3 separate regions of the Homo sapiens genome follow, and all the other regions are linked to region 1. Evidence: promoter capture Hi-C in human tissues and cell types (Jung and others, 2019). All regions are on one chromosome and are shown on one strand. The core of a region is centred on a gene start or on the middle of the fragment in contact, and the rest is flanking DNA. Distances in the headings are between cores, read along the strand shown.

Region 1 (3,220 bases), core at 41-2,540:
TGGGTGTTTCAGTTAATTACGTAAGAGAATATTCTTTCTATGCTTCCTCAAGATTCCGGGGATTCTACTCTCTTTCTCATTCTTAGTGTCTCTAGTCCTACACAAAATCCTGCATTTCTGAAATTTAACCCTTACCCCTTGGATCTTGGAACAGCAAAAATTAGACAACCAATTCTGACTCCAGTATTTCCTAACCCAGTTAGCATGAAAAGTTACCTAAGCTCCCCAAGATATCAGTTCTCTCATCCATATACTGAATATAATAATCTACGTAAGCGGGTTGAGGGTTAAATGAGACAATCCTCAAAGCATTCAGCAGGCATTGCCAGAGGAAAAGCAATTAGTAAATGTTTTCACGACCACAGTTCTCCTAACCATTCAGACAACTTGTAAGTGGAGTCGAGGAGCTCTTTCACGCTGTAAACATGGACGTGGGAGGAAGCAGAATCTAACGGAGACTGGGCTGAAGGCCGAGGCGAGAGAACGAAGACTGAGGCGGCGCTGACGGCGGCCGGTGTGCCTCAGCTTGCCATCAGGAGTCGTTACCTTTGCTAAGCTCGGAGGGTTTCACCTCTAGGAGTTCCTCAGCAGTCTGGAACCCCGCAGACACCAGCTTCACCCGCACCGCTGGAGACAGCGGGAAACTCACCAAATCCCGCTGCATTTCAAAGCGGAACGTCTTCCCGCGCATCGCAGGCTCACCTGCTAACCCCGGAGCAGCCAAACTCCGCACGCCCTCGCTGGGGCGTGCGGCGTGACGTCAGACGTAAAGCGGAAGGGGCCGGCTCTGCGGCCTGGCCGCACGGGGCTCCGGGCCTTGCAGCTTTGCGCAGTCTTGTAAATTTTCACACTTATGCACCATTCCGTTTTGATTCCCCAAAATCCCATTTAGAGATTCCTCATCAAATGTACACCCTGACTGTAAAACGATGGACGGAGACCATAGGACGGAGAGCCAGGCCCAGTGGGTTCTCCACGCCACATTTCCTTGCCTCCACCGTGGCCTGTTAGGTGAAGCCTCAGAGTCATTAATAGGAATGATCTCGAGTGGGAGTAGTGAGCGTAACGGGCACACACTAGCCAGTTACCATTATTTTGGTGTGAAAAGCTCAGGGAACAATCATTAGAATTAATCTGCGTGCTCTTTGTAGAGTTGCAGTCTCTTGGCTCTTCCCGCTGACCGTCCCCCTTTTCTGACCCCCCCCCCCCGCAACGACCACATTGCTTTTCCCGCCCTCGCGAGGGATTGTGGGCCAGCCCCCAACGGCCGCTGGGAGGGATCAGTCCGCATTCCCCGCACCCACCCACGTCTTCCCGGGAGTCGTATCCCGAGCATGGAGGTTACTGAGACCGTTATTTCTTCATGGCCTGCCTAGCTTAAGCAGTAGCTGGAAAAGTAAGCAACTAATGTCCCCATTAGTGTGTCTGGGCTCCTGGGGTCCTGAGAAGGAGGGGCTGGGCTACACAAGAGCTCCTTTTGTGGTACAGACTTGGGAAGGGGTGTTCAAGCAGTGGTAGTGACCGCCTCTAAATTACAGAACTTCGGGGAGGAAGGCAAGCAGTTTAGAAGGTGGTTTATGAGTTCCTTCCTTGCCTAGGTGAGTGTAACTTATTTAGCAGGGGGTAACTTATTCCCTACCTATTGGCGATTTTTTTTTTTTTTTTTTTGAGACAGAGTCTCACTGTGTTGCCCATGATGGAGTGCAGTGGCACGATGTCGGCTCACTGCAACCTTCGCCTCCCGGGTTCAAGTGAGTCTCCTGCCTCAGCCTCTTGAGTACCTGGGATTACAGGCGCACGCCACCATGCCCGGCTAATTTTTGTATTATTATTAGAGAAGGGGTTTCACCATATTGGCCAGGCTGGTCTCGAACTCCTGACCTCGTGATCCGCCTGCCTCGGCCTCCCAAAATGCTGGGAGTACAGGCGTGAGCCACCGCGCCCGGCCCTGTTGGCAATGATTCTTAGTCTTGACTTTTCTTCCCAGCTTAGAAGAACTTTCTAAATATTGCAAATCAGAGCCCTCTACATACTTAGATCTAAAAAAGGAAACAACGTATGTTGAGCACTTTAGCAAATCCCACACATTTCAAATGGCCATAGCCATGCCAAAAGGAAGATAAGGACATGGAAGCTCAGCATATAGTTTAATATCAATTCTGATAAAAGAAAAAAAGCTGGCCGGGCGCAGTGGCTCGTGCCTGTAATCCCAGCACTTTGGGAGGTCGAGGCAGGTGGATCTCTTTGAGCTCATGAGTTTGAGACCAGCCTCGACAACATGGCGAAACACTGTCTGTACCAAAAGTACAAAAAATTAGCCGGGCATGGTGGCATGCACCGGTCGTCCCAGCTACTCAGAAGTCTGTGGTGGGAGGATCCCTTCAGCCTGGGAGTGAGCTATGATCACGCCACTGCACTCCAGCTTGGGTGATAGAGTGAAACCCTGTCTCAAACAAACAAAACACCTCAGCACAGTTTTCTTAAAGCCAAGATTCAAACCTAGCATCCTTTTTACTACCCCGAGCTATTAAGATTTTGAGTCCCTACTGGCGGGGAGAATACGAGAAGCATTTATACCCCATTTGGTAGGTCAAAGAAAGTCTTGTAGGACTGGCCAAAATGTGGTTGGCCACTCAACCCATTGCTTAACTTCTAATATGGTCTATATTTGAGCGCTCAGTGGATGCATAAATACTATCTTCAGGGAGATTTCATGCTTATGCTTATAAAGCACCCAGATTCTTGGGTGAAGAAAAAACATGGTATTACCACATTCAACAATAAGTCTTCAGTTAGTTTGGTCAAACTCAGTGGAATCAGTCGTGTTTAGAATTTCTTTCGTTGACAGTGGAAAGTTCAAAACTACTTTGGCCTGGCACAGTGGCTTAAGCCTGGAATCCAAGCACTTTGGGAGGCCAAAGAGGGCACATCGCTTGATCTCAGGAGTTTGAGACCAGCCTGGGCAACAGGGCAAAACCCCATCTCTACAAAAAATACAAAAATTAGCCAGCATGGTGGTACATGCCTCTAGTCCCAGCTACTTGGGAGGCTGAGGTGGGAGAACCAATTGAGCCCGGGAGGTTGAGGTTGCAGTGAGCTGAGATTGCGTAACTCCACTCCAATCTGGGCGACAGAGCGAGACTCCATCTCAAAAACAAAACAAAGCAAAATAAAAAAAACAAAAAAACCCCCACTCAACTCTATCTATAGCTGTATAATT
Region 2 (3,220 bases), core at 375-2,874, 770 kb after region 1:
CACTTTGGGAGGCCAGGGAGGGAAGATCACTTGAAGTCAGGAGTTCAAGACCAGCTTGGCCAACTTGGTGAATCCCTGTCTCTACTAAAAATACAAAAATTAGCCAGGCATGGTGGTGCCTGCCTGTAATCCCAGCTACTTGGGAGGCTGAGGCAGGAGAATTGCTCGAACCCGGGAGGCGGAGGTTGCAGTGAGCCGAGATCGCGCCATTGTACTCCAGCCTGGATGACAAGAGCAGAACTCCGTCTCACAAAAGAAAAATTAATTAAGAAAACATAAAAATTGACATATATTCCCGGGTGCAGGGGCTCACACCTGTAATCTCAGCAGTTTGGGAGGCCAGGGCAGGAGGATCACTTGGAGTCAGGAGTTCGAGACCAGCCTGGCCCACATGGAGAAACCCTGTCTCTACTATAATACAAAAATTAGCTGGGCGTGGTGGCAGGCGCCTGTAATCCCAGCTACTGGGGAGGCTGAGGCAGAAGCATCGCTTCATCCCGGGAGGTGGAGGCTGCACTGAGCCAAGATCATGCCACTGCACTCCAGCCTGGGTGACAGAGTGAGACTCCATCTCAGAAAAATAAAAATAAAAATAAAAATTGACATATAAAATGTTTTATCATAACTTTAAGTGGAATGTATTTCCAGGCCTATTGTATGCCATCTACTTGCTTCAAATTTATTTTTGTCAAAGCCTTAGAACAGCAAACCCAGCCCAGGCAGTTGTGGAAAACATCCACCATAATTCCTAATTGGCCAGGCTGGATCTTGTGGTTAGACCAGCCAGCCAAATCATACTTTGTGTCGGAAAAACTCTGACTCCTCTTTTTAATTCAAATATTTATTAAACAGGTTAAACAGGTGTCCCTGTGTCAGCTTCCTAATTCTAATCCTAAAATAAACAGATGGGTAGGTAAGATAGATAAGGCCCCCTTCTCAACATCTTAAGGAAGTTCTTTGTCCTGCTGGAACTCCTCCCATGAGGGCTGCATTCTTCCGTTGTCTCTTTGGTGGCTTTTATAACCCAGGGCGGGATACCAGGGTGAGGTTGGGATGACTGGGGGTAGGCCTTTCTTTTGGGAAGTGTTTAGGAGGGCCTTGGTGAGGGGAGAACTGGCAGACCCAGAGGGTTCCCGGCTGATCAGTTTTAGGAAGAAGCACAGGAAGTGGAGCTTTCAGAAGTTGATTCCCTGGAAGCCATCCATGTCTGAATACTTCTGGGAAGTCCCCAGGTTCCCTGAGGGTTTTGCACATGTACTCTGGTGGGAAGACTGTTGAGTAGCAGCCTGGATATCCTACCTAGGATTTTGCTCTGTGGACATTACAGAGCTTGTGGATCTTTGAGACTGAGACTGCTTCTCCCACCAGCTCCCTGGTAACACCTTGAATGCACGCCCCATGTTTCTTCTCAGCTCCTCTCAGTGAGACAGCAGGGGCTCACACTCTAACGATGCCACCTTGTTGAGGGGGTAAACTGAGGTCCAGAACAGGAGAGTGACTACACAGAGCAGTCCATGTACCCCACCAAAAAAGCCAGCTGGCATTCCTAGTGGAGGCATCACAAGGCAAAAAAGCCTTGGGGTGGGTCAGGAGGAGTAGTCTTCAGAGTTCAGCCTCTGCCCCTGCCTCAGTGCACGTCACCTGCATTCTCTCAGCCTCAGTGTCTCTGCCTGTTAAATGAGGCTGATGTGGCAGGTGTTGAGCCTGCTGTTCACAGGCTCTGAAGTTGGGCAGACCTATTTTTGAATCCTAGCTTTGCCACTTACTCGCTGTGTGACCTTGGGTGAGTTATTTACCTCTCTGTGCCTGTCTCCACATCAGTCAATGGGGAGAAGAAAGGCCTCTCTCTCATGGGATGGTTGAGAGGATCAATGAGACAAGTGTTAGTGTCAGGCCCACATGGCATGCTCAGTAAGTATTATTGTTATCCTTGGTTTTTGTTCCCTGTAAGAATTATAGTCAGGAAGAGACTCCGTGGAGTGAAGGCCTGGTTGAGACTCTCCAAGGGCAGGATTGTGTTGGTGCATGGCCTTGCCCCTTCGTCCCAGGATGACCACATGTGCTAAGTGGCACTTAGTATGTGTCACCTGATGAACAATGAGTGCCAGTCAAGAGGCCCTTATGACAGCCTCTGAGCCGCTGCCATCTGCTGGGCCTCTTGTTGTCATCTTCCTCCAACATTCACCCGGGGAGGCATCAAGCCACTGGCCTTGTTGCCCTGGGGGAGATGAGGCTGCCCCCACATTTCCCCATAGCCCAGTGGTTTTGAGAGCACCTGTGTGCCCTGATGGGACCTGTGGCAACCTCAGGGACCTAGTGGGACACCTGTTGCCGCCCATTCTTCTCCACTGTTCAGGTTCCCATGTCCTCCCTATTGGATGGGCCTCAGGCGCTTAGCCTGCTCACCTTTCTCTTCTAAAGTCACCACGTCTCCATTTTCTTGTGGGCCTCTCCTAGGAGATGTTTTATGAACAGAGTCCAGTCCCCACCCCTCCATCCCCTCATCTCTTCTCACAAACTTTCCCCTGGAAGTTACTCCCTTGACCCCCTCCTCCTCCTGCTCAGAGAAGTGAATAATGAAATAAAACAGACAGTGCACTCCAGGTGGGATTTTGCTGCTTGAAGGAATCCCTTAGTCAAGCAAGGAATCCTTTTGTAAAGTAAGTGCTCACTGTGGATTTCCGTCTGGGAGTTTTTGCTTGGACTGGTTCTCGAGAGCGGGGCCCAGGCGAGTTTGTGAGCCTGGGGGTGGGCGAGGCTGCTGGCCTCCTCTCTGTGGCCTGAAAGGGCTCCCAGTGTGGCTTCTAGATCCACTGATTACCTTTCATCCTTCCGCTGTCTTCCTGTCAGGGCTCTGGTCTGCCAGCATCGATCACACTGGCCTGGGAGGTGGTGACGGGTTTGTGTTTCTCCCTGTTTTGTTCCTTTGCTTCCCCGTCGCATCTCCATGGAAACAGGTGCAGCCTTTGTGTTGCCTTTGCTTTGGGCAAATCGATGCCAAGTGGGGACTTCTCTGGACTCTCCACCCCCTCCCCTCTCTGGGATCAAAGTGGGAGGAGGGGGCAGTGCAGGGCCTGACAGGAAGCCTTTTGGGGGCCTGGAGGGCCTGGGGTGGGAGACCCCGCTGCATGGCTCCTGTCCTGGCCTGCCCTCATGCCTCAGGCATCACAAGGCCATCGGGATGGAGCAAGTGTGCTGTGATTTAGAAACACTCTCAGCC
Region 3 (3,220 bases), core at 400-2,899, 530 kb before region 1:
ACAGCAACTTGAATACTAAAAGTCGGTCCCTGGTTCCAATGGTTGAAGGCACCTTAGTAGTTAAATGTCATCCTACAGTTTAACCAGGTAGCTATTAAAACAGATAACCCAAATAAACAATAACAAGGCATTTGGCTGACCACCCTTTAAAACCTCTGAGGCTTTTCATGAGTGGGAAGGCTAGAATACTATTGAAGTCACTCATTAGAACTATGCTTAACTAATAAAATTATATAGAAGAATGATAATGTACTTCCGTATTTATATTTCAAAACCTTTTTCCTTGGCCAATACTTGTTAGTAAAGTGATTATGGTACTACACCAAGTTTTAGACTGTAAACTCCTAGAAATTATCATTTCAAGTGTGTATTAAATTTCAAGCAAATTTTAAACCGGTTTAAGATTCAGCCTTAAAGAACAGTTAAAATTGATTGAAAATAATCCAATTTCACCGCACTTTATACATCATAGTTGAAATGCAATGAAGACACATTATTACACAATAATGAAGAAGCAAAGATTTGGCCTGTTATCTGGGAAATTAGAGGGTGGACTACCTGGGCTCCTTTTAGCAAAACACTTTTCCAAAAGAAACTTATTTTTGTTTTCTTTAAACAATACTGTCCTGTCCTAAACGAAATCATTTTTAGTCTGTTGAAAATCCACGTGTCTTTGCGTGTTTATTTATTTATTTATTTATTTATTTATTTATTGCAGTGTTCAAAAAAAAAAAAAAAAAGATGCAAGGTTTCCAGCCCTGAGGACCAGGACGCTGTAGCTCCTGTCTCAGTTCAGCCCTAGCTCTAATTGTGACCTTGGGAAATGTCCCTGGCTCGGGGGACTCGGTTTCCCTCTCTTCTCAATTATGAGTGCTCGGAACGTGGGGGTGGGACGGGCCCCCAGCACCGCAGACAAGGGGTTACAGCTCGTCCAGCTTCATGCAAATCCCCAGCCCTCCTCGTCGCCTCGGCTCTTCCCATCCACTCAGCCACTAGCTCGCTCGGAGCAGTGTGCTCCCGGTGCCCCCCGCGGGGTACCCTCGGTTCTGCACGGCGCTCCCCCTTTGTGTCTTGCTGCTAGGAAGGGACCTTGCGATCATCCTTCCATCCGCCGAGAAACGCTCCACCTACCCTTCATTCTCGACCGTGTCTTTCCCGTTTCAGAGAACCCCTCACACTGCTGCCCTCGAGAGACCCCCGCCGTGGCTCTGACCGGGAATCCCTCTCCTTCCCTCCCCTCAGGAGACCTTCCCTTCACACAGCCTTCACCTCCGGAAGAGCCCTCAATTCACACAACCCCATTCTTCCTCAAACTCTCAGGGATTGGCACCCGGCTGCCTTTTGCGGAGCCGCAAAGGACCCTCAGCCTCCCCCACCTCCGTCATCGGGTTCTGGGGACCCCTCTCACCTCCGCGGTGAGAGATGTGTTTACTGAGGAATCGCTGCTTCTTTCTCTGGTGCAGCAAGGTCGGGTATTTAAGCAACAAGAATGAGGTCACCAAGTATCCTCCTAGCGTAGAGAGAAGGTAAAAAGCCGCAGTGGACGACATCTCAGTCACCGTGTGGGAAGTCTCCCACCTCCGGGCCCTCTGAACTCCGCTGCGGCAGTAGCAACGACGGCGGCGGCGGCGGCTGCTCGAGGTCGGCTCGCCCCCAGCCGGTGCCACTGGTGCAGCGCACTTGTCGGTGCCGGCCTACTGCGCACGCGCAGCTGGACCCCAGCGCCCCAGCAACAAAGAGGCTCCGACGCGCAGGCGCTCTCCGGCTCCCGTGTAGGAACCTGCAGAGATCCTGGACTGAGCGTTTGTCACCTAGCTCTGTGGACGGACCCTCATGAAGAGAAAGCTTGCAAACCTGCCAGTGTGTTGGCCATCACTCAAGCAGAAAAGACTATTCACGGGCAGCCTTTCCTAATTGGAAAATCCACATCAAAAAGGAAAGATTCCAGGGCGCGTCTTATCCCTTGCTCTAGAAAATGCAAATAATTTGTACCTATGGAGGCGATAAAGCTTGCTAAAACACTAAATAAACTCCTCCGTTTATCTAGCCTAGAGAGAATTTCCCCTATGGTCGCATATACTAGAAAAGGTACTGGTTTATCAGTCAAATATCTGAGAGATCGGCCCCTGTCCTCCCTCATTTCATTGTGAAAGTGCAATCCTCATTCTTTGTACACAATAGGCACTGTAGAAGTATTTGTTGACTTACAAGTCCGTATAAAATAAGGAAACTTTGTTAAGGTTATAAGGTATTACCTAAAAGTCCTAGAAAGACAGATAACTAAGTTCCAGAAGGCCCTACTAGTTTTCCTTTTACCCGACAAATTACAAACTGCTAACACACGAAAAGCCACACACTTCAATGCAAAAGAAATAAATCACCCAGGACTGAGGGAGAAATTTTACGGAGAAGACCATATCTCCCACAGGACTAGAAAAGCAGAGTGAATATTTAAAATCCTGATTCAGCCGGGCGCGGTGGCCCACGCCTGTAATCCCAGCACTTAGGGAGGCCGGGAAGGAAGGGTGGATCGCTTGAGCCCGGGAGTTCGAGACCAGCCTGGGCAACATGGCGAAACCCCATCTCTACAAAAAATAAAACAAAATAAGCCCGGCGTGGTGGCGTGCACCTGTAGTCACGCTACTTGGGAGGCTGAAGTGGGAGTATTGCTTGAGCCTGGAAAATCGAGGCTGCAGTGAGCTATGACTGCACCACTGCACCCCAGCCTGGGCGACAGAGCAAGACCCTATCTCAACTATAAAAAGAAAATTAGAAGAAAATAGGGGGTGGCTGGGCACGGTGGCTCAAGCCTGTAATCCCAGCACTTTGGGAGGCTGAGGCGGGCAGATCATTTGAAGTCAGGAGCCTGGCCAACATGGCGAAATTCCATCTCTACTAAAAATACAAAAATTTGCCAGGGGTGGTGGCGTGTGCCTGTGATCCCAGCTACTCAGGAGGCCGAGGCAGGAGAATCTCTTGGACCCGGGAGGCAGAGGTTGCAATGAGCCGAGAAGGCGCCACTGCACTCCAGCCTGGGTGACAGAGCGAGACTCCGTCTCAAAAAAAAAAAAAAAAAAAAAAAAAAAAAAAAAAAAAAAAATTCCTTTAGTCGAGGTTGAAGTGAGCCTTGATGGTGCCACTGCACTCCAGCCTGGGCAACAGAGCAACATTCTGAGGAAACTTACAGGTTAAAAAATCATGTGTTCTGTTTAGGGCTGTT

The links. The method cuts DNA at HindIII sites, captures the fragments that hold promoters and counts their contacts. A contact is called where the count stands out against the background at its distance.
Region 2: a contact is called between a fragment that was not itself captured here and the fragment with the promoter of TEX14 in region 1, in 1 of the 25 tissues and cell types used here (IMR-90 fibroblasts).
Region 3: the fragment with the promoter of GDPD1 here is called in contact with the fragment with the promoter of TEX14 in region 1 in 1 of the 25 tissues and cell types used here (stomach).

Annotation. Positions count from the first base shown.
Region 1 is chr17:58,690,115-58,693,334 of GRCh38, reverse strand. TEX14 (testis expressed 14, intercellular bridge forming factor) reads left to right here and starts at 1,290. Exons shown (of 32, transcript NM_031272.5): 1 at 1,290-1,396. It overlaps IGBP1C (IGBP1 family member C), which reads left to right and starts at 1,290. Exons shown (of 2, transcript NM_001395966.1): 1 at 1,290-1,396. RAD51C (RAD51 paralog C) reads right to left here and starts at 733. Exons shown (of 9, transcript NM_058216.3): 1 at 547-733. The coding sequence starts at 691. RefSeq lists enhancers at 376-545, 876-975. The HindIII fragment of the contact is 12,262 bases long and covers 1-3,220 here.
Region 2 is chr17:57,916,226-57,919,445 of GRCh38, reverse strand. The region is part of intron 1 of CUEDC1 (CUE domain containing 1); the gene reads left to right. CUEDC1-AS1 (CUEDC1 antisense RNA 1) reads right to left here. Exons shown (of 2, transcript XR_001752948.2): 2 at 3,130-3,220. Among named protein-coding and RNA genes, the nearest start is that of CUEDC1-AS1, 5.7 kb to the right of the region's middle. The HindIII fragment of the contact is 7,776 bases long and covers 1-3,220 here.
Region 3 is chr17:59,218,940-59,222,159 of GRCh38, reverse strand. It overlaps GDPD1 (glycerophosphodiester phosphodiesterase domain containing 1), which reads right to left and starts at 1,649. Exons shown (of 10, transcript NM_182569.4): 1 at 1,409-1,649. The coding sequence starts at 1,550. RefSeq lists an enhancer at 1,073-1,623. The HindIII fragment of the contact is 11,394 bases long and covers 1-3,220 here.